7 separate regions of the Homo sapiens genome follow, and all the other regions are linked to region 5. Evidence: promoter capture Hi-C in 16 types of primary human blood cells and fetal thymus (Javierre and others, 2016). All regions are on one chromosome and are shown on one strand. The core of a region is centred on a gene start or on the middle of the fragment in contact, and the rest is flanking DNA. Distances in the headings are between cores, read along the strand shown. Region 1 has its middle 11 kb from the start of PSMB5. Region 2 holds the start of PRMT5 (protein arginine methyltransferase 5). Region 3 overlaps RBM23 (RNA binding motif protein 23). Region 4 has its middle 5.4 kb from the start of HAUS4. Region 5 holds the start of DAD1 (defender against cell death 1). Region 6 overlaps C14orf93 (chromosome 14 open reading frame 93). Region 7 has its middle 14 kb from the start of LRP10.

Evidence for each region. Contacts are between HindIII fragments. The CHiCAGO score rates a contact against its expected background, and 5 or more counts as called.
Region 1: a fragment that was not itself captured here is called in contact with the fragment with the promoter of DAD1 in region 5 in 2 of 17 cell types (naive CD4 T cells and total B cells); the score reaches 5.5 in naive CD4 T cells.
Region 2: a contact is called between the fragment with the promoter of PRMT5 here and the fragment with the promoter of DAD1 in region 5, in 3 of 17 cell types (naive B cells, total B cells and naive CD4 T cells). The highest score is 10.4, in naive B cells.
Region 3: a fragment that was not itself captured here is called in contact with the fragment with the promoter of DAD1 in region 5 in 17 of 17 cell types (naive B cells, total B cells, erythroblasts and 14 more); the score reaches 22.9 in naive B cells.
Region 4: a contact is called between a fragment that was not itself captured here and the fragment with the promoter of DAD1 in region 5, in 2 of 17 cell types (total B cells and naive B cells). The highest score is 7.0, in total B cells.
Region 6: a fragment that was not itself captured here is called in contact with the fragment with the promoter of DAD1 in region 5 in 9 of 17 cell types (total B cells, naive B cells, naive CD8 T cells and 6 more); the score reaches 11.3 in total B cells.
Region 7: a contact is called between a fragment that was not itself captured here and the fragment with the promoter of DAD1 in region 5, in 17 of 17 cell types (total B cells, naive B cells, erythroblasts and 14 more). The highest score is 24.1, in total B cells.

The regions. Positions count from the first base shown.
Region 1 is chr14:23,022,305-23,025,134 of GRCh38, reverse strand. No RefSeq gene overlaps it. Among named protein-coding and RNA genes, the nearest start is that of PSMB5, 11 kb to the left of the region's middle. RefSeq lists an enhancer at 1-18. The HindIII fragment of the contact is 3,160 bases long and covers 1-2,830 here.
Region 2 is chr14:22,927,700-22,930,631 of GRCh38, reverse strand. It overlaps PRMT5 (protein arginine methyltransferase 5), which reads left to right and starts at 1,256. Exons shown (of 17, transcript NM_006109.5): 1 at 1,256-1,380; 2 at 2,017-2,135; 3 at 2,421-2,506. The coding sequence starts at 1,271. PRMT5-DT (PRMT5 divergent transcript) reads right to left here and starts at 1,023. Exons shown (of 3, transcript NR_110002.1): 1 at 880-1,023. It overlaps TRR-ACG1-3 (tRNA-Arg (anticodon ACG) 1-3), which reads right to left and starts at 931; the gene lies at 859-931. RefSeq lists a silencer at 803-892 and an enhancer at 1,303-1,412. The HindIII fragment of the contact is 19,261 bases long and covers 1-2,448 here.
Region 3 is chr14:22,910,341-22,913,240 of GRCh38, reverse strand. RBM23 (RNA binding motif protein 23) reads left to right here. Exons shown (of 14, transcript NM_001077351.2): 2 at 1,838-1,913. The coding sequence starts at 1,848. Among named protein-coding and RNA genes, the nearest start is that of RBM23, 7.4 kb to the left of the region's middle. The HindIII fragment of the contact is 1,288 bases long and covers 778-2,065 here.
Region 4 is chr14:22,960,905-22,963,985 of GRCh38, reverse strand. No RefSeq gene overlaps it. Among named protein-coding and RNA genes, the nearest start is that of HAUS4, 5.4 kb to the right of the region's middle. The HindIII fragment of the contact is 5,455 bases long and covers 1-3,081 here.
Region 5 is chr14:22,587,974-22,590,822 of GRCh38, reverse strand. It overlaps DAD1 (defender against cell death 1), which reads left to right and starts at 1,599. Exons shown (of 3, transcript NM_001344.4): 1 at 1,599-1,876. The coding sequence starts at 1,666. RefSeq lists enhancers at 1,319-1,960, 1,961-2,602. The HindIII fragment of the contact is 712 bases long and covers 1,322-2,033 here.
Region 6 is chr14:22,986,020-22,989,224 of GRCh38, reverse strand. It overlaps C14orf93 (chromosome 14 open reading frame 93), which reads left to right. Exons shown (of 7, transcript NM_021944.4): 6 at 1,210-1,322; 7 at 1,591-3,205. The coding sequence ends at 2,010. All of the region lies in intron 1 of AJUBA-DT (AJUBA divergent transcript), which reads right to left. Among named protein-coding and RNA genes, the nearest start is that of AJUBA-DT, 3.3 kb to the right of the region's middle. RefSeq lists a silencer at 2,385-2,494. The HindIII fragment of the contact is 3,625 bases long and covers 1-3,205 here.
Region 7 is chr14:22,856,070-22,859,121 of GRCh38, reverse strand. No RefSeq gene overlaps it. Among named protein-coding and RNA genes, the nearest start is that of LRP10, 14 kb to the left of the region's middle. The HindIII fragment of the contact is 4,412 bases long and covers 1-3,052 here.

The DNA of each region.
Region 1 (2,830 bases), core at 57-2,556, 430 kb before region 5:
TTTAAAAAATGGGAGCGGAGGACACAAACAATACCACCTTGTATTTAGTCAGAAGGCAGAAAGTGGTTGGTGAAGGTGACAACCCAGTGTCATGTTTTGAGACTGAGAGGTTTGGAGAAGTCATTCACAGAAGAAGAGGGGGTAAACCCTCCTCTCCTGTACTGCAGCTACCTTCCCTTCCCCCTCAGCCTTGTGCAGTCTTCGTATTGATTGATGAGGGCTGTCGGCCAGGAACTGATCGAGGCTTGTTAATTGCATTTGTCAAATGCAGGGAAATTGGGAATTAGTGAAATCGGAGAAGGGGGTTTGGAAAACAAATGACTCGTGCCTAAGGAAATTTTTTGCAGGAAAGTATCTCAGGAGCCCCTGCAGTCAGGGAGCTGCTGGTGTGGACTCAGACTACATGGTTGAAATAGGCAGGAGCTGGGCGGGGCACAGTGGCTCAGGCTTGTAATCCCAGCACCAGCACTTTGGGAGACGGAGGCAGGCAGATCACTTGATGCCAGGAGTTTGAGACCAGTCTGGCCAACATGGTGAAACCTGTCTCTACTAAAAATACGAAAAATTAGCTGGGTGTGGTGGCAGGCACCTGTAATCCCAGCTACTTGGGAGGCTGAGGCAGAGGTTGCAGTGAGCCGAGATGGTGCCATTGCACTCCAGCCTGGGCAACAAAAGCAAAACTCCATCTAAAAAAAAAAAGAAAGAAAGAAATAGGCAGGACCCAAGCTACATCTTCCTTCTCGTAGACTGTTGGGAAATGGTTAGCTGCGTGAGAAGCACAGGTAGGTCATCTTCCTCCCACTTAGGACATTGGTTTGCAGATCTTAAAAAAAAAAAAGAAAAAAAAAAAAGCACTCTTAGGAGAAATCCCAATGCCTGAAAAAAAAATCAGAGGTTGAAATTGAGCTGAGAGGTCCAGAGCCTCCACTATTGAGCTTCCCCATCCAGCCACTCCCCGCAGCACCCTTTGTTAGCCCCATACACATACACAGTCCCTGGCACTTCTTGGAACCTCAAGGAACACAATTTGAACACCTCTTCCCTGGGAAATAGCCTTAAGGATAGAAAGAGAATTGAAGATTGGAATTTCCTTACATGACCCCAGAGAGCATAAGACCCCAGCTTTGGTCCATGAACAGAAAATTCATTCTGGAGAGAAGAGATGATCGTGAAACAATGCAACCCTTTGCCCTGTTTCTGTCTCACACTTTGCTTTGGCAGTGGTTTAGCTGTTTAACGGAAACACCTATTCTGCACTGGCAGAGTCCTTATGTTAGAAGAGAAAATGCATGTTCTGTTCTGGCATATCCCTGTTGATCTACCTTCCTGGGTCTTGGGTAAAAGACTCATTTAATGGAAGAGCTCGATTTGTGGTAGGTTTTTCTGGGAAGAAAGTAGAGCAGAGGTAGGGAAAAACTGCAAGTCTGTAGGCTAGTGGTATCCACCCTGTGCATTTGTGATTTCTTGCTGATGGTTACTGGGGGGAAATTGGCTTTGCAGCGATGTGTGTCTCCGCTTGTGTGGGAATGATGGATGCCGCATAGGATTGGAGAGATGTTTTTGAGTGGAGTGTACCAGTTCAGGGACTCCCATCAGATTCATTTCCCAGTACAGTCCTCTTGACAAAGGATGATGGAAAAGAAATCGCCTTAAATAGCTGGAAGATTAATTTCTCTCAGCAGTTCCCAGGCGTCCAAGGGACTGGGCTCTTTAAGTGATGTCTGACAACTTCTCTTCCCTCAACAGATAACTCAGTAACACCAAAATCTGGCTCCTCGGGGTAGGTGATGGGACTAATCTGATTAAATAGGGAGCAAATACTCCTGGAGGCCCCTTGCTTTCTCTTGCTAGCCTTCCAGCATCTGCACACCAGGCAAGGGAGGGCTGTGGGGAGTAGCAGTGCACTGTGGGGTGAGTAGAATGTTCATGAAGGAAGGTGAAAAGGTAGGTGAGGATGTGGGGGAGGAGGGAGGAAGGGCACAGTTAACGCAAATCAAAGACTGAAGGATAATAGTTACTGAGTGTTCCTCTTTAGGCAAAACCAGAAGGTCAGTGTCTCTTGATATCCTCCTCAGCTAGCAAATGAGAAAACTGTCAGAGCCATTTGGGGAGTGGAAGGTCACATCCTCCGAGGGGAAATAAAATAACTGATTTATTCTGGCCCACGGATTCTATGTGGTCTGTTAGGGGAAGGAAGAAAGAGGTGGGATGAAAAGAGAATAAAGTAGAAAAAAAAAGGTGGATGGAAATTTTGAGGGGAGCATTTCCCTTGTGTCAGGAGTAACAAGGATAGGATGATTGGGTTAGGAGAGAATCTACATGACCATATCTAATTTTCGGTGGATACATTTAGGTTTTTAATTTTCTTTTATTTTTGTTTCTTTTGTTAGATCTTCCCCTGACCTGCTCCCAGGGCTATAACAGATACGGACTTTGAAACTGTATGGAGTATAGAGCAGTGCTCTATAATTTAAAATATACATATATTGCAACCAAGCACCTCTGCTGTTTTGCGTTTGTTTCTTGTTTGTTTTTATAAATTCTAGTTTCCCTTCAGGAAGCCAGAATCATACTGGGAATGCTTTAATTATAGTGGGCAAGAGGGAGCTCAAACAGCAATCAGAACTGCCCTGATCAGCAGCTGCTGCCACCTTCTACCTGACCTGGGCCACCCCTCTTTTTCCCCCCAAGTCAGCCTCCCGTGCTCCCCAGGCGTGGCTTCAGAGCCAAGTTCTGGTTTCCAGGAGCTCTGCCCCCACTGAAGCATTTCAATAAAAAACATTTCTAAAATGTCCCCTTTGCAGTTGTTAGTGGGTCAAGCAGAAGAAAT
Region 2 (2,932 bases), core at 7-2,506, 340 kb before region 5:
CCCAACGAGCTATGGTGATCTCAGTCGCATGGCCTCAGTTCTTTTCTTCTAGCGACCTCCATCCAACTTTCTATTACACAGCGCCCCCTAGACGTTCAATTCAGCATGACCAAACCCAAACCCTGATTTCCCAAACCCTCTTTCCGCATTTCTTGCTCACTGCATGGACAGAATCCTAGGCATCACCCCCTACTTTGCTTTCTCAGGACTCCTTGCCAGTCGGTCCCTAAGTTCTGCCAGCGGCGCCTGCGTGGGGTCTCTTGTACCGTGTTCTCCTCTCCATCCTTGCTGCCGAGCCCTCAACACCAGTGGGCCCCCTGCCTTCTGGAGTTCCCATTTACCTCCCTATGTCTTTCCTTGCTTCCTTCCTTTCCATCTCTAGCAGCTAATGACATGAGAAAATGTAGATTCTCTCTGGCCTCCATGCCAGCCAATTTCATGACTGCTGCCCACTGTAATTAATGAATTCCTTTTCTCTATCTTGAGGTGTGTGTGTGTGTTTAGGCGTTTATTTACACCTTTTGTGTTTGAAACACAAAACACTACTTCCTAGAATCACTAGGAAGTAGTAGCTGAGTTAGCAGTTTATTTTAATATGTAACATAGTAAGGTGACAAAGCTCATTTTAATAGCACCAGCCATTAACCCAGTTTTCTCAGTGTTCATATGGACGTAAATAATGACACAAGAAAAACACTTTTGAGGGTAGTTACGGGAAAAGCTGACATTACATGGCTGCATAACCCAACCGACTCAGGATCTGATAATGAAAGCGTGAAGATAATAAAGAAGCATCAAGCTGCGAAAGGAAAGGAAAATTACAAAATGCTCACGCAGCGAAGCTGCGAGGAACCCCACCGAGCCAGCCAGGAGTCGAACCTGGAATCTTCTGATCCGTAGTCAGACGCGTTATCCATTGCGCCACTGGCCCTGAGATGGCACTGTTTCTCTCCGTGATGGTACTTCAAGGTTATACTGCAGGGTTTCATGGGCGGTGTAGTCTCTCAACGGCGTTCTTCAGATAGACTAAGCATTCTGGGAGATTGAAGTTCGTCAGGAACCAGACCCTGAGATTGGTGGATCCATGCCGTACGCCACTGTGCAGCCCGCGGATTGGCAGGAAAAGCCACTCCCCATCCCTCCTGTTCGGGAGCTGTGGCAGACGCTCTGGTTGTTAAGGCGACTCGTCCCGCCTTCTGGGGCACTAGTTTGACTTTGTGATTGGCTACTAGTATCAAGGAATCCCGGCGTGGACAGCGCGAGGAGAAAGATGGCGGCGATGGCGGTCGGGGGTGCTGGTGGGAGCCGCGTGTCCAGCGGGAGGGACCTGAATTGCGTCCCCGAAATAGCTGACACACTAGGGGCTGTGGCCAAGCAGGGGTGAGGGCCGGACCTCCACGAGCGGAATGCGGGGTCCGAACTCGGGGACGGAGAAGGGCAGACTAGTCATCCCGGAGAAGCAGGGGTGAGGGGGTCGGCTAGGATGAGGAGGGGAGAGACTATTACTCTTTGGAGGGGAGGAGCCTCGGACCCAGTAACGTGAGGAAAATAACTTGTGGGAGGCCTGTGGTCACTGAGTCCCAAAGTTGGGAGAGTTGTTGGGTAAACTCTAAAGGGCCCTGGAGGTCGCGATTATTGTCTGGGAGTGGGAGGAGGTGTTAGGGGGCAAGGGAGAGAAGAGGCTAATTTTGACGGGGGAGGCATGGGCAGAACTGGGGCAAATCTGGATGTGATGGTCTTGGAAACATACTGACACCTGAGGAGAAAAAAATTCTACTTGTGGATATCCATCATTTTCTCCTTACTCATATGTCCCATGGCTGTGTTTTAGGGAGAAATTGAGGCACAGTACAGCAGAGTTGATATCCCCCAAGGTGGTCTGAACTCAGCAGCCTAGTAGGCTGAACTGATGGCAGCTGAAAGGGCTGTGCAAAATCAAGATAGCCTAAATCCAGTTGCTTGGCTCTCTGGCACTGCTGCTGTCTTTACATGATTCTGGGTCTGTCGCGGTTGTAGGTTTGATTTCCTCTGCATGCCTGTCTTCCATCCGCGTTTCAAGAGGGAGTTCATTCAGGAACCTGCTAAGAATCGGCCCGGTCCCCAGACACGATCAGACCTACTGCTGTCAGGAAGGGGTAGGGACCATCCCATATGCCCCTTAATTATTAGAGGCAATAACAACTTCTGCTTTATCGGGGCCCTCATTCTCCTCCTTTTCTGACTTGGATATATTTGTTAGTCCCTGGGATATAGATAACTTGTTTTCTCCTTGCTTCTCTATTCTGCATCAGGCTATCCCATGTCTATGTAGAAAAAACCTTTGTCTCTCATTTCTACTCTTGATTCCCAAAACTAAAAATTGAACAAGTAAAGTGCTGAACCTTATTCAGTATTTGTCTTTCTTGGGTGGGGGAGTGCAGACTGGAATACGCTAATTGTGGGAAAGCTTTCTCCATGGATTCGTCCAGACTCAAAAGTGGAGAAGATTCGCAGGAACTCCGAGGCGGTAAGACTGTTTGACTTCTCTGCTGGATTTTTCTAACCAAGCTGGGTGGGGAGAGTGGTCCCCTCCCATCCCCAATAACTTGGTAAATTAACTGATAGAATGAAATTAAAGCTATTAGGCTGGGTGCTGTGGTGCACACCTATAATCCTAGCACTTTGGGAGGCTGAGGCTGTAGGATCACTGGAGCTCGGGATTTCGAGACCAGCCTGGGCAGCGTAGTGAAACCCCATCTCTATAAAATATACAAAAATTAGCCAGGCATGGTGGTGCATGCCTGTGGTCCCAGCTACTCAGGAGGCTGAGGAGGGAGGATCAGTTGAGCTTGGGAAGGTCAAGGCTGCAGTGAGTGGAGACTGTGCCACTGCACTCCAGCCTGGGTGACAGAGTGAGACTTTGTCTCAAAAAAAAAAAAAAAAAAGCTGTTTG
Region 3 (2,900 bases), core at 172-2,671, 320 kb before region 5:
GGGTTTCACTGTGTTAGCCAGGATGGTCTCGATCTCCTGACCTCGTGATCCGCCCGCCTCGGCCTCCCAAAGTGCTGGGATTACAAGCATGAGCCACCGCGCCCGGCCTTCTTGTGCCCTTTTAAAATCTTTTTCTCCCAGCCCTTCCCCTTACTTCTATCCCTAGGCAACCATTGATGTGCTTTCTGCTTTCTTTGATATAGTGATTAGTTTGCTTTTTTTTTTTTTTTTTTTTTTTTTTTGAGACTGAATCTCACTCTGTCTCCAGGTTGGAGTGCAGTGGCACAATCTTGGCTAACTGCAACCTCCGCCTCCTGGGTTCAAGTGATACTCCTGCCTCAGCCTCCCGAGTAGCTGGGCCTACAGGCGCGTGCCACCACGTCCAGCTAATTTTTGTATTTTTAGTAGAGACGGGGTTTCACCATGTTGGCCTAGATGGTCTCGATATGTTGACCTCGTCGTTGACCTCGTGATCTGCCCGCCTCGGCCTCCCAAAGTGCTGGGATTACAGGCATGAGCCACCGCGCCTGGCCTAGTTTGCATTTTTTAGAATTTTATGTAAATGGAATTGTTCATTGTGTACTTTTTGTGGGGGGGGCTGGTTTCTGTCACTCCGTGTAATTATTTTGAGATTCATCCATGTGTGGGTTGATAATTCCAGACCAATAACATTTGAATAATTTATCCTATTGGTTTTCTTTGGTATTTTCTGTTTTTCTTATTTGACAAACTGGTGGTAGACAGCCTGGGGAGAGGCAGTTTCTAGATGTGAAAGCTTGGGGAGGCACGTTTTACCTTGCCTGCCAGAGAGAAAGGTTTCAAGATGGGATTAGTCGAGCCTGTCTTAATCATCATATTTCTGAGTTACCTAAACTGTAGTTGGTATTGGTTAGAAAATGCTCAGGGATAAGGCCCTAATTATTGGTGTTCAGGGTATGCGGAGAGGAAGACGTTAGGGCAAATCTGCATTTTGGTGTTGCTTTGACTTGCTTCTGATTTTTAGTCGTGCCTCTTTATCTTTTTATTGGACATAATGTGCCTATATTTGTTTATTATTTTTTCGTTTTATATTTTTCTCACATCTGTAGCAGCCAGGCCTGTTTTTATTATTTGAGTTTAAACCAGGTATTTATTCAGAATTTTGAACAGTAGAGTGGAGACCTAATGTCTATTTTATAGTGAACAGTAGTTTGGCCACCATCATTTTCTCTTCATAGAACAGGATCAGTGTTGTATTTTGTTTCTTCCTAGATACTCAGTTTTCTTCTATATCCTTGACTATTTTTTTATGTATTGTTTTTTGTGTTTTTTGTTTGTTTGTTTTGTTTTTGAGACAGGGTCACACATTGCTGCCCAGGCTGGAGTACAGTGGCGTGATCTTGGCTCACTGCAACCTCCACCTTTTGGGTTCAAGTGATTCTCCTGCCTCAGCCTCCTGAGTAGCTGGGATTACAGGTGTGTGCCACCACACCCAGCTAATTTTTATATTTTTGGTAGAGGGGGTTTCGCCATGTTGGCCAGGCTGGTCTCAAACTCCTGACCTCAGGTGATCTGCCTGCCTTGCCCTCCCAGAGTGCTAGGATTACAGGTGTGAGCCACTGCGCCCGGACTATCCTTGACTGTTCCAAGCCACAAAGTCGAACTAGTTCAGATCTATAGGGTGTAAAAATAAACCTAGAGTAAGTGACAGCTGGTAAGGTTTCTTTGCAGTTCAAGAAACAGAACTGAAATCTGTATATCCTGAAGTCTCTTTCTTGGAGTGGGAAAGAAATGTGTGGTGCTGGAAAGGGAGGAAAAATATAAAACAGATTCTTACATATTAATATCCTCTCCCCAGATCTGACAGGATGGCATCTGATGACTTTGACATAGTGATTGAGGCCATGCTGGAAGCTCCCTATAAAAAAGAAGAGGTAATATTTTCCACCTCACTCCTGGAATTGGGTTAATGAGAAAGAGTAGTTGTCGATCATCACTTTCAACTTTCAACATTTTATGAATCCTCTTTCCCTGCTTATTTATTATGTAGAATAACTAATCATAAAAGGCATAGTCTTAGTAAGCTTTGCTGGAGACTATGGTTAAGAGCCATACTTTTAGAGACAACCTCAGAAACCGGAGTGGGCACATAATGTGGTGTTGGTAATCTGTGCTTTGCTCAAAACTCGAAGTGACACAGTAGAAAGTCACTGTACCTCAGACCTAGCACCAATTTCTTTTTTTTTTCTTTTGAGACAGAGTCTCGCTCTGTTGCCAGGCTGGAGTGCAGTGGCACAATCTTGGCTCACTGCAACCTCCGCCTCCTGGGTTCAAGCCATTCTCATGCCTCAGCGTCCCAAGTAGCTAGGATTATAGGCAAGCACCACCATGCCCAGCTAATTTTTGTATTTTTAGTAGAGACGGGGTTTCACCATGTTGGCCAGGATGGTCTTGATCTCCTGACCTTATGATCCACCCACCTTGGCCTTCCAAAGTAATGGGATTACAGGCGTGAGCCACTGCGCCCGTCCCAGTTTCTTTTTTAATATATTTTTTATAGAGACAGGGTCTTGCTATGTTGCCTGGGCTGGTCTCGAGCTCCCAGGCTCAAGCGATCTGCCTTGGCCTCCCAAAGTGCTGGGATTACAGGAGTGAGCCACTGCACCTGGCCCACTTAACAGCAATTTGCTTGCTTGCTTGCTTGCTTTTCCCTCCCTCTGCCCTCTCCTCCCATCCCTCCCTCCTTCTCCCTTCCTTTCCCCCCCACCGCTTTCTTTTTTCCTTTCTTTTTTTTTTTTTTTTTTTTTTTTTGAGATGAAGTTTCACTCATTGCCCAGGCTGGAGTGCAGTGGCGCGTTCTCAGCTCACCACAACCTCTGCCTCCGGGTTCAGGCGATTCTCCTGCCTCCCAAGTAGCTGGG
Region 4 (3,081 bases), core at 421-2,920, 370 kb before region 5:
GAGGTCAGGAGATTGATACCATCCTGGCTAACACGGTGAAACCCCGTATCTACTAAAAAATACAAAAAATTAGCCGGGTGTGGTGGCGGGTGCCTGTAGTCCCAGCTACTCAGGAGGCTGAGGCAGGAGAATGGTGTGAACCTGGGAGGCGGAGCTTGCAGTGAGCCGAAATCGCACCACTGCACTCCAGCCTGGGCGACAGAGCGAGACTCTGTCTCAAAAAACAAACAAACAAACAAAAATCCAAGGAAAGCTGGATGCAGTGGCTCATGTCTGTAGTGCCAGGACTTCGGGAGGCTGAGGCTCAAGAAGATGGCTTGAGGCCAGAAGTTCGAGACCAGCCCAGCAACATAGTGAGACCCTGTCTCTACAAAAAATTTAAAAAACTACTGGGGCATGGTGGTGCATGCCTGTAGTCCCAGCTACTTGGGAGGCTGAGAAGGGAGGATCCCTTGAGCTAAGGAGTTTGAGGCTGCAGTGACCCATGCACTGCAGCCTGGGTGACTGAAACCGGTGCCACTGCACTTCAGCCTGGGTGACAGTGAGACCCTGTCTCTAAATTAATTAATTAAAATCCAGGGAAATACTTTTATCACCCTGGCACACGCTTTCAAGTTATAGCAGCATACTCAATCATTATAACAAGAATTGCCCACCTTGTGCTTCATGTCTAGCTTTTCAAAATGATACTGGTCTTCCCCTCCTGAATCAGTTTCCTTTATAGTCTCATATTCCTTTAAAAATGGTTTCAATCTGTCCCATTTTTGAGCCAAATTTCTTAGCTTTTCTTTGAGCTCTAAAATTTTCTATCAGGCCTACTTCATATACTAGTTCACAATAGTGTCTCAAAGTAAAACCAGGCTCATTCTAGTTTGTATAACAGAAATTTCTGTGAACAGACAGGCAACCCTTGAAGCCTCAAGGGCCTAGCTTTGAAATCCCCTTGGAGGTGTTAAGCAATTGAAAAAATGGCACATTATGAACATTTGTTCTAAAATTTTCATTTGATGTCATAGGTTGATTACATATTTTTTTATCCACTTGTTTTCTTCTTAAATTATGTGCTTACAGTAGGCATGAAATTTTCTAGCTTAATCATCAATAGTTGTAGCTCTGAATACCTTCATTTTCCAGTGAACAATCTTGAAAATAAATCTAAAATCTCTTGACTGCATGTAAAATTTTTTATTTCTGAAACTAGTTTCTCAGTCCATATAATATCAGAATGTATTCAAATACTTTCAAAGTGATATGGCTTATTTTTCAAGTTTTTCTAAATTATTGATCAGTTAAATATGATTCCAGCCAGTCACGGTGGCTCATACGCGTAATCCCAACACTTTAGGAGGCCAAGGCAAGTAGATCACTTGAGCCCAGGAGTTCAAGACCAGCCTGGAAAACATAGCAAGATACTGTCTCTACTAAAGACAAAAAAGTAACTGGTCTTGGTGGCATGTGCCTGGAATTCCAGCTACTTAGGAGGCTGAGGTGGGAGGATCACCCGAGCCTGGGAGGTCAAGGCTGCAGTGAGCTGTGATCATACCTCTGCGAGACAGAGAGACACCCTGTCTCCAAAAAAAAACAACAACAGTGATTCCAAGTTCCAATGCTATTTTAATGTCTTAGCTTTGCAACTGGTTATTGAAGCCCATATTTTTAGTGAGAACATATTCTACTCAAAGATTTCTATTGGTATCATAAATACTCACAGTACTCACAGTACTAAATACTAAATACTAGTACTAAAATACTCAGTACTAGTACTCACAGTACTAAATACTCACCTGGAATTTCTCTCTGGAATTTTTGTTTCCCGGCCTTAGTGTGGGAGGCAAAGTGCCTGCAATGTTCTTACAAATCTCCATTCTCTGCAATTCTAAACAATGCAGCAAAAGAATGTCCAAGTCTGAAAGGTTATGTAGACTTTTTCTCAGACTCTCATTTACATTTATCACTAAATTAAAAACATACATGAATAGTTTTTAGAAGACCAGGTCAACAGCAATGTCTGAAACGGTAGAGTTGGATTGAGGGCAGGAGTTATGTCTAATTTATCTTCCTACACCCTGACCTCCCACCCTTACAGGAGTCTAGCTCAGGAATACTTGAGTATGTTCTTGGCTTTATCATTAAAGAGCATTTAAGAAGTGAATGATTGTATTTTGCATATGGCATAACAGAAGGTGAGATGAACAACACTAATGAAAGGACAGGCCTATAAAAGCCAAGCATTCCATGGAATAAACAAAGCGATGTAAGGTATTTGTAGTGTGGTTGTGGCCGAAAATTCGTTTTTCAACAAATAAGTGCCTCACTGGAACTCGGAACCAACAATTAAGTATGGAGATAGGTACCCTGGGGCTGTTAGAAGCACCTCCTTAAATATAAACCCAAACAAATTAAGGTTTTGTTTTTGTTTTTTGTTTTTGTTTTTTTGAGACAGAGTCTTGCTCTGTTGCCCAGGCTGGAGTGCAATGGCACGATCTCGGCTCACTGCAACCTCTGCCTCCCAGGTCCAAGCGATTCTCTTGCCTCAGTCTCCTGAGTAGCTGGGATTACAGGGCACCTGCCACCACTCCCGGCTAATTTTTGTATTTTTAGTAGAGACAGAGTTTCACCATGTTGGTCAGGCTGGTCTCGAACTGCTGACCTCGTGATCCGCCCACCTCGGCCTCCCAAAGTGCTGGGATTACAGGCGTGAGCCACCGCACCCGGCCCAAATTAAGGTTTTAAATAGGATTTCATATTTATCAGCAATAAAATGACATTAACTTAAAAATGAATTGGTCGGGCGTGGTAGCTCATGCCTGTAATCCCAGCACTTTGGGAGACCAAGGTGGGAGGATCACTGGAGCCCAAGAGTTCGAGACCAGCCTGGGCAACATAGTGAGACCCCAACATAGAGAGTACATCTTTATTTGATTCAATTTACATAAGATTCTAGAAAGTCCAAACTATTCTATAGTGACAGAAAACAGAGTTGATGGTTGAGTAGGGCAGGGAGAAGCTAGAGAAAAGAATTACGTACGGGCACAGGTAAACTTTTAGAGTGTGATACATATGTTCACTATCTTGATCTTG
Region 5 (2,849 bases), core at 350-2,849:
CTCTAATCCCAGCTACTCGGGAGGCTGAGGCAGGAGAATGGCTTGAACCCAGGAGGTGGAGGTTGCAGTGAGCCGAGATCGCACCATTCACTGCACTCCAGCCTGGGTGACAAGAGCAAAACTTCATCTCAAAAAAAAAAAAAAAAAAAAGTGAAAAGGCAGGAACGCTGTTGTTCACCTGCTGTTTTAGGAATTTTGCTCACGTACAGTTCAAAATATTAAGAAGCTGAAAATAAAGTACCTGGTCATGTGTGGAAAAACTTACAGCTAAAAGGTGAGATGAACTGGGTCTAGAAGGTCGGATTCACGTGAAATTAAAAGGGCAACGAAAGCCAGAACTTAATTTCTTAAAAAAAGTTAAAACAGGCCGGGTGCAGTGGCTCATGCCTGTAATCCCAGCACTTTGGGAGGCCGAGGCTGGCGGATCACAAGGTCAGGAGTTCGGGACCAGCCTGGCTAACAATGGTGAAACTCCGTCTCTACTGAAAATACAAAAATTAGCCGGGCGTGGTGGCGCGTGCCTGTAGTCCCAGCTACTAGGGAGGCGGAGGTTGCAGTGGGCCGAGATCGCGACACTGCACTCCAGCCTGGCCGACAGAGCAAGGCTCCGTCTCAAAAAAAAAAAAAAAAACAGTTAAAACCCTCAAAATAATCCCACTTGTTAAAATACAAAACCTGAAACCATTTCAGTTTCTTCTGCAAAATGAGTTGGAGAGAGTAGGGTTGAACCAGGCATGCTCTTTCGGGCCTTTCGACGCTGACATCCCGGGATATTACACCAGGTTCAAGATACCAGCTTGCGGAAAGAGAGCTGCTAAACTTGACCATATGCTTTTTGCACGACATTCGACAGCTGTCCCTCCCTTCACCAGCTCTTTTAAGGCTGCAAATATATCTGATTCACGTGAGAGTCCCTACAAGTTAGTACAACGTCAGGCCCCAAGGAGGCGCCCAATAAATGTTGGCATTGCAGGGCCAGATCCCGAGTTCCAGTTCAGAACCCTGCTGAGGTCAGGCTTCCTCCCTGCCTCCCGCCCCTCACCACACCCACTCACTCCCCCAAGTAATTAAGTCTAAACTGGGGCCTGTGCAGTGATTGGCCGCGCCGGGTCTCACTGCGGATGAACTTGACTTGTTCCAATGATCTGTGACAGACATCTGCAGACAGCGCCCTTAACAGAATTAGGGTCAGGCTGGTATCAAACCCCAGGAACGCCAGGCATTGCCTCAAAGTAGATGCAAACCGTTAAATCTTCCAGGACTCAGAAGGACCAGAGAGAGCCGGATACCTCTGGTTAGCTACGCGGTCCCCAGTAAAGCTTATTCCCCTCTTCCTCCCAGTGTGTCTTGTTGCCAGAGCAACTGTGGGCGTCACCGAGCTGACGGGCGGAAACAGAACAGAAAGAGTACACGTCCCCAGCTCATTGATAGGGCCATTGCGCAGACGCATTAACTTTTCTGAGTTGTAGTTGAGTCTGTTGATGCAGTCCGCGTCTGCGCATTAGTTGTTACGCGCCCTGGCCGGCCTCAGCGCCTGCGCAAATTGGCACACCGGGGAGGGCGGAGTTAGGTCACGAGGGTGCGCATGCGCAAACAGCACATCCGGTGTGGTCGACGGGTCCTCCAAGAGTTTGGGGCGCGGACCGGAGTACCTTGCGTGCAGTTATGTCGGCGTCGGTAGTGTCTGTCATTTCGCGGTTCTTAGAAGAGTACTTGAGCTCCACTCCGCAGCGTCTGAAGTTGCTGGACGCGTACCTGCTGTATATACTGCTGACCGGGGCGCTGCAGTTCGGTTACTGTCTCCTCGTGGGGACCTTCCCCTTCAACTCTTTTCTCTCGGGCTTCATCTCTTGTGTGGGGAGTTTCATCCTAGCGGGTAATGGTTCTATAAGTGATCATAATAATAATGTGTTACTTTGGTGTGCTGCTTTTGTTTTCATAGTACTCTATATCAGACCACCGCCCCTTGAAGTTATGAGAAGAGCCTGCATTGCCCTTTTGTTGTGAATGGGGAAATTGAGGCTCAGAAAGCTTAGATTATATGCCTAATACCAAACGGCTCCGTAGGAGTTGGACTTAAAAGTCTAAAGAAACCACCTTCGTGCCGCTACTCCACTTGGTGATCCACTTCACTTAATATTGGTCCGGGGAAAACCCTATTCCAACTTTAACTTAGGTTTAACACAACTCTAAAATTAGTAGACTTTTCAAATGAAAAACCCAACCTTGAATCATCTCTGTCATCTTGGCCTAATCATTACCAATCTCCGGTGAAACGTTTCAATGAAAGTGCAAAGAATATAAATACTGGTGCTTTTCTTGTTGAATCATCCTTTACTTGATTTTGCCTTTTAGCTGCTACTACTTTTTTTCTTGTTGAGGAAGCTGTTATTTCACTGTCCTGAACCCAATTTTTGTTCACATAACTCTATTTTAGCCTTATTTTTCCTTTTGATTCCAGGATTTGGTAACCTTGTAGACTGCTATATTTAGCGAGAACAGTCTCCATCAATTTTTGTTAAAATCTGACTTTTCTTGCCCAACGGGGATTCAGTGAATACTGAAAACAGGCGTGGCCTCTATCACTGGTATCACCTGCTACTTTGACTTTGAAAACATGCCAGCATTCATGGTTTCTTTTCAGTGTGATCATCAGTCAGGTCATCAGTTGTATTTTCAGTCCAATATGAGGCATTATGGTAAAAGCTTTGGCACATGTTCTTTATCCGTAAAGAGTTTATGGTCTAGTTGGGGTACAGACAAAATACAGCATTGGAATTGTCTGGAGGCCTGGCACAGTGGCTCATGCCTGTAATCCCAGTACTTTGGGAGGCCGAGGTAGGCAGATC
Region 6 (3,205 bases), core at 474-2,973, 400 kb before region 5:
GTCCAGGAGTTCGAGACTAGCATGGGCAACATGGCGAAACCCAATCTTTACCAAAAACAAACAAAAATAACAAAAATTAACTGGGTGGGGTGGCATGCATGACGTAGTCCCAGCTACTTGGGAGGCTGAGGTGGGAGGATTGCTTGAGCCTGCGAGGTGGAGGTTGCATTGAGCCAAGATCGTGTCACTGAACTCCACTGTGGGCAAACCTTGTTTCAACGAAAAATAAAAAAATACTTGTAATCTTCCATCAGAGTGGCAATAGGGGTAGATTGTTGTTGTTTTTAAATTTTTTTTTAAATAGAGACTGAGTCTCACTATGTTGCCCAGGCTGGTCTCAAACTCCTGGGCTCAAGCAATCCTCCTGCCTCAGCAGGAGGCCTCCCAGAATGTTGGGATTACAGGTGTGAGCCACCACGCCCAAGAAGGGGTAGGTTTTATTTGGTGGAGGGAGCGGGGAGACACAGAAGCGATTGGAGTTGTCTTTTTCCAGTGGGAGATATTTGGGAGGAGTTAGTGTTGGAGATGGAGGTGGGCAAAGAAAGCTAAACCAATTAGCCGGCCATGGTGATGTGCACCTGTAGTCCCAGCTGCTCAGGAGGCTGAGGCTGGACGATCACTTAAGCCCAGGAGTTGGAGGCTGCAGTGAGCATGCATGACCATGCCACTGCCCTCAAGCCTGGGTGACAGAGCGAGACCCTGTCTCATAACAAAATCATAATAAAATAAATAAATAAAAAGAATCCTAACCAAAGAGGAGTGAAGATGCTAATGCCTATGCCAAGAAAGCCCAGCATCTAGGCCAGGCACGGCTGCTCACGCCTGTAATCCCAGCTCTTTGGGAGGCCAAGGCAGGTGGATCACCTGAGGTCAGTAGTTTGAGACCAGCCTGACCAACATGGAGAAACCCCATCTCTACTAAAAAGAGCTGGATGTGGTGGCACATGCCTGTAATCCCAGCTACTCGGGAGGCTGAGGCAGGAGAATCGCTTGAACCCAGGAGGCGGAGGTTGTGGTAAGCCGAGATTGTGCCATTGCACTCCAGCCTGGGCAACAAGAGTGAAACTACATCTCAAAAAAAAAAAAAAAAGCCCTCATCTAAGTAGTGATCGCCAACCTCCCATTCAATAGTGTTAGGGCAGAAAAACGGGCTGGGGACCACTACTCAGAGGACCCTCCTTCTTGCTCCCTTCCTTCCCTCCCCGCCAGGAGCCTGTGTGGCCTACTTCCTTACTAAGAGGCGTGAGTACCGCAACTCCCTGAACCCCTTTAAAGGCCTGAAGGAAAAAGAGGAGAAGAAACTTCGAAGTCGCCGATATCGGGTAGGTTTCTAGGCCTTTCTTTCAAGATACTAAACTCTAAACCCTTTCCTAAGTGGGAAGGGCCAGAGGACATGGCATATGAGAATAGGGTTGAGAGCCAGGAATGTAGGAAGATAGAGAAGAACAGTGAGCCAATGCTAAGATCTGACTTGGGGACTGGGTTCACTTAGGCACAGATTTTACACAGCCTTCCCCACCAAACCTTTTCCCCAAATCTAATCCATAGAATGTTTACCTTCCTAATCTATCTCCTGGGTTCCTGCCTTAGCTTTTTGCCAACCGATCCAGTATCATGAGGCATTTTGGACCTGAGGACCAACGTCTGTGGAATGATGTGACAGAGGAACTGATGTCAGATGAAGAGGACAGTCTTAACGAGCCAGGTGTGTGGGTGGCCCGCCCTCCCCGTTTCCGGGCCCAGCGCCTCACAGAGCTCTGCTACCACCTGGATGCTAACTCTAAGCATGGCACCAAAGCCAACCGTGTGTATGGGCCTCCCTCAGACAGACTGCCTTCTGCTGAAGCCCAGCTCCTTCCACCAGAACTTTACAATCCTAATTTCCAAGAAGAGGAAGATGAGGGAGGGGATGAGAATGCACCTGGCTCCCCATCTTTTGACCAACCCCACAAAACCTGCTGTCCTGACTTGAACTCATTCATTGAAATCAAGGTGGAAAAGGATGAATAAAATCTACAGCCAAGAATAACTCTGGCTTCCGCCATGCCCCATGTCTCAGAAATAGGTGGCCATGGGGCTTCACAAAATAATGAGATGCTCTGTGCAGTCTGAGAAAGCAAATTTGCCTCTTTTCTTAACACAGTCTCTACTGGGGAAGCAGAACACTGGTGGGATAAAAACTTATCTAGAAGGGGAGAAACTCCCTCCACTGTGAACAGTAAGCCAGAATATGCTTATTCCTCAGCATAAACAGTATCTCGGAGAAGCCTGGGATGAGAAAATGAGGAGGATGGGTCCAAGAAACATGAGGCCTTCTTGACATATGCCCTGTCTCTGAGTTGTTTCTGCCCCTGCCCAGTTCCACCCAAAGCTCTGAGGAAGCAGCCCAGGTTGTACCTTTTGCTTCCCTGTGACTACTTGTCTTGCTCTGCAGTGGAAACCGAACATGACCAGTGCAGGTTAATACCGCCACCTGGTGGGCAGTTTCAGTCATGAGCTTGAGTCTTCTGACCAAGGGAACACAAGTTCTATCACTATTGGGGAATTGGGTTCCTGATATAATAGCTATTGTTTATTGAATTACATGAGGAAAATTTTACTATTCCTATCTTACAGATGAGGAAATTAAGGCTTAAAGAGTTCCCGTGTCTCACCGGCAGCCTCTCTCTCACTATGTGACCAAGCAAAATACACAGCTTTGTAGCTGTTTCTTGGTCCTGTCAGCCAAGCTGTATTTTGAGGAAGGGGTGTGCATTTTGGATGGATTGAAAAGCAAAAATGGCTTTACATTTATTCAGTCTTATAACAAACATTGATCGCTTTACTAGGTGTCAGGTACTGTGCTATGGATACATTGTTGATAAGGTTGGATGCTGTTCAGAGATTTTTTTAGTTTAGTCAGGAAGCCAGGCAGTGGAGTAGGCAATGAAATGAACTGTGATAAGGGTGACCATGGTGGAGTGTAGTGCACTATGGCAATATACAGCAGGGGTAGCTAACCTACTCTTGCAGTCTGGAAAGGCTTCTTCTGAGAGGGTGTAATGTCTAAACTGGGGAAGAGTTAACCAGAAGGAAAGGGGAGGCTAAGAGAGTGTTCCAAACAGGGAACTGCAGGTACAAAAGTCCAGGGGCAAGAGAGAGTACAGACAAGGTCCAGTTCTACTGCAGACTTTTGGGGAAGGGATAATGCTAGAGGAGAGGCTGG
Region 7 (3,052 bases), core at 14-2,513, 270 kb before region 5:
AGGCTGGGTGCTGTGGCTCATACCTGTAATCCCAGCACTTTGGGAGGCCGAGGTGGGTAGATCACATGAGGTCAGGAGTTTGAAACAGCCTGGCCAACATGGTGAAACCCTGTCTGTACTAAAAATACAAAAATTAGCCAGACATGGTGGTACGTTCCTGTAGTCCCAGCTACTCGGGAGGCCGAGGCAGGAGAATTGTTTGGACCCAGGAGGCGGAGGTTGCAGTGAGCTAAGATCATGCCACTGCACTCCAGCCTGGGTGACAGAGTGAGACTCTGTCTCAAAAAAAACCAAAACCAAAACCAAAAACCAAAAACCCCAAAAACCATATTGTTAGACTAAATGGTTTCCTGAGTACCACCTTAGATCCTTCTGATATTAACAAAGCATGTTACACTCAATCTTGGCTTTGTCTTTATACCATGTTTTCCTGAGAGTGCCCTGAATTTGATACTTGCCCAGAAGCTATTTAAAAAATTTAACATCATTTACTGTCTGGAGAGGCTGAGAATTTTAAAATCCAAAAATTCCTGGCTCTCTTTTTGTTTTTCTTTTGAGACGGAGTCTTGCTCTGTCGCCAGGCTGGAGTGCGATGGCGAGATCTCGGCTCACTACAACCTCCGCCTCCTGGGTTCAAGTGATTCTCCCGCCTCAGCCTCCCGAGAGTTGGGACTACAGGTGAGCGCCACCATGCCCAGCTAATTTTTGTATTTTTAGTAGAAACGGGGTTTTACCATGTTGGCTAGGATGGTCTTGATCTCTTGACCTTGTGATCTGCTCGCCTTGGCCTCCCAAAGTGCCTGGATTACAAGCGTGAGCCACCATGCCCGGCCTCCTGGCTCTTTTTAAGTGGTATTTTTTTTTCTTAGCTATCTATCTCGCACTTTACTATAAGCAGCAAAGAAGAAACCAGGTGTTAACTTCAACATTCTCCCTGAAAATCTCCTTAGCTAGATTTCCCATTCATTAATTACATTTTTTACTTTCCATGTTACTACACACTAACTATAGTTGCTAAACTTGCTGAATAACGAGAATCCTTTTTCTTCCAGTTTCTTTTTTTCTTTCTTTTTTTTTTTTTTTTTTGAGATGGAGTCTTGCTCTGTTGCCCAGGCTGGAGTGCAGTGGCACGATCTCAGCTCACTGCAAGCTCCGCCTCCCGGGTTCATGCCATTCTCCTGCCTCAGCCTCCCGAGTAACTGGGACTACAGGTGCCCACCACCAGACCTGGCTAATTTTTTGTATTTTTAGTAGAGATGGGGTTTCACTGTGTTAGCCAGGATGGTCTCAATCTCCTGACCTCGTGATCCGCCTGCTTCGGCCTCCCAAAGTGCTGGGATTAGAGGCGTGAGCCACCGCGCCCGGCCTCTTCCAGTTTTAAAACACATTTTCCTCACTTTCCTTAAGTCTTCACTGGCCGCCTCTTCAAAGACCATCATGTCTGGGTATGGTGGCTTGTGCCTATAATCTCAGTGACTTAGGATCAGTTGAGGCCAGGAATTTGAAATCAGCCTGGGCAACATAGCAAGACCCTGTCTTTAAAAAAAAAAAAAAAGAGGCCACTGTGGTTCTACTAACTGTCGCGTCCAGGCATTTTAGACTTTCACTAACACTCTTCTCAAAGTCTTTCCAGCTTCTGCCCTTTGCCGAATTTCAAAGTCATTCTTACATTTTAGTTGTTTGTCACAGCAGCACTCCACTTTTAGTACCCAAACCTATTAGTTATCTATTGCTGAATGAGAAATCATCCCAAAATTTCACAGCTTAAAATATAAAATAAACATTTATTGTTGTAATCATTTTATATTGGCCAGGAATTTGAAAGTGACTTACCTAGATGAACCTGGCTTAGGATCTCTCATTAGGTTGCAGTCCAAATGTTGGCCAGGACAGTAATCATCTGAAGGTTTGACCGTGGCTGGAGGATCTGCCTCCAAGATGGCTCACTCATATGCCTGGCAAGTTCATGCTGGCTGTTGGCAGGAGGCCTCAGTTCCTTACCTGTGGACCTCTCTATAAGACTTCTTGAGTGTCCTGCAGCATGGCAGCTAGCTTTCTTCAAAATGAGTGATCCAAAAGACAGCAAAACATATTTTTGATTTTAGATTTTAGATTTTTATAATGTCTTTTATTGCTTATTATTCTTGGAAGTCACACACTGTCACTGCTGCCAGACTCCATTAGAAACAAGTCACTGGCCAGGCAGGGTGGCTCACACCTGTTATCCCAGCACTTTGGGAGGCTGAGGCAGGTGGATCACCTGAGGTCAGGAGTTCAAGACTAGCCTGGCCAACATGGTCAAAAATTAGCCTGGTGTGGTGGCATGTGCCTGTAGTTCCAGCTACTCTAGAGGCTGAGGCAGAATTGTTTGAACCCGGGAGTCGGAGATTGCAGTGAGTGGAGATCACGCCACTGCACTCCCAGCCTGGGTGACAGAGCAAGACTCTATCTCAAAAGAAAAATAAATAAAAAAATATTTATTTAATATATAATAATAATGAGTATTTATAATAATATATAATAATAATGAGTATTTACACTGTACTAAAATACCACGTCCTTCCTTTACGCCACTGCAGTCTTCCTTCCTTTCAGTTAGAGTATGAGCCAAAGTCTTTACAATGACTTACAGGGTTTTATGGGATGTCACCCCATGACCTGTCTGATCTCCTCTTCTATTGCTGTCTTCCTTGATCATTCTGTTCCAGCCACACTACCTTGTTCACTAAGACATGAATATGGGAGCCATGTACTCACCTCAGTCTTGGCATTTACTTCTGCTTTTGCTTGGAATGCTCTTCTTCCTGAGAACCACTTGGTTTGTTCCCTCATATCCTCAGGTTCTTGGTGGGGCCTTCTCTGACCCCAGTGTATAAAATTACACCCCCAACAATGTCTATCTCCCTTCCTCAATTAATTTTTCTCCTTAGCACTTAGCACTATCTAATAAACTATTTTATTAATTCATCACATTTATCCCTGCTCTTCTCACAAGAATGTATGTTCCATGAGGGCAGGGTCTATTTGTTTACTGCCGTATCCTCAGTGCCAA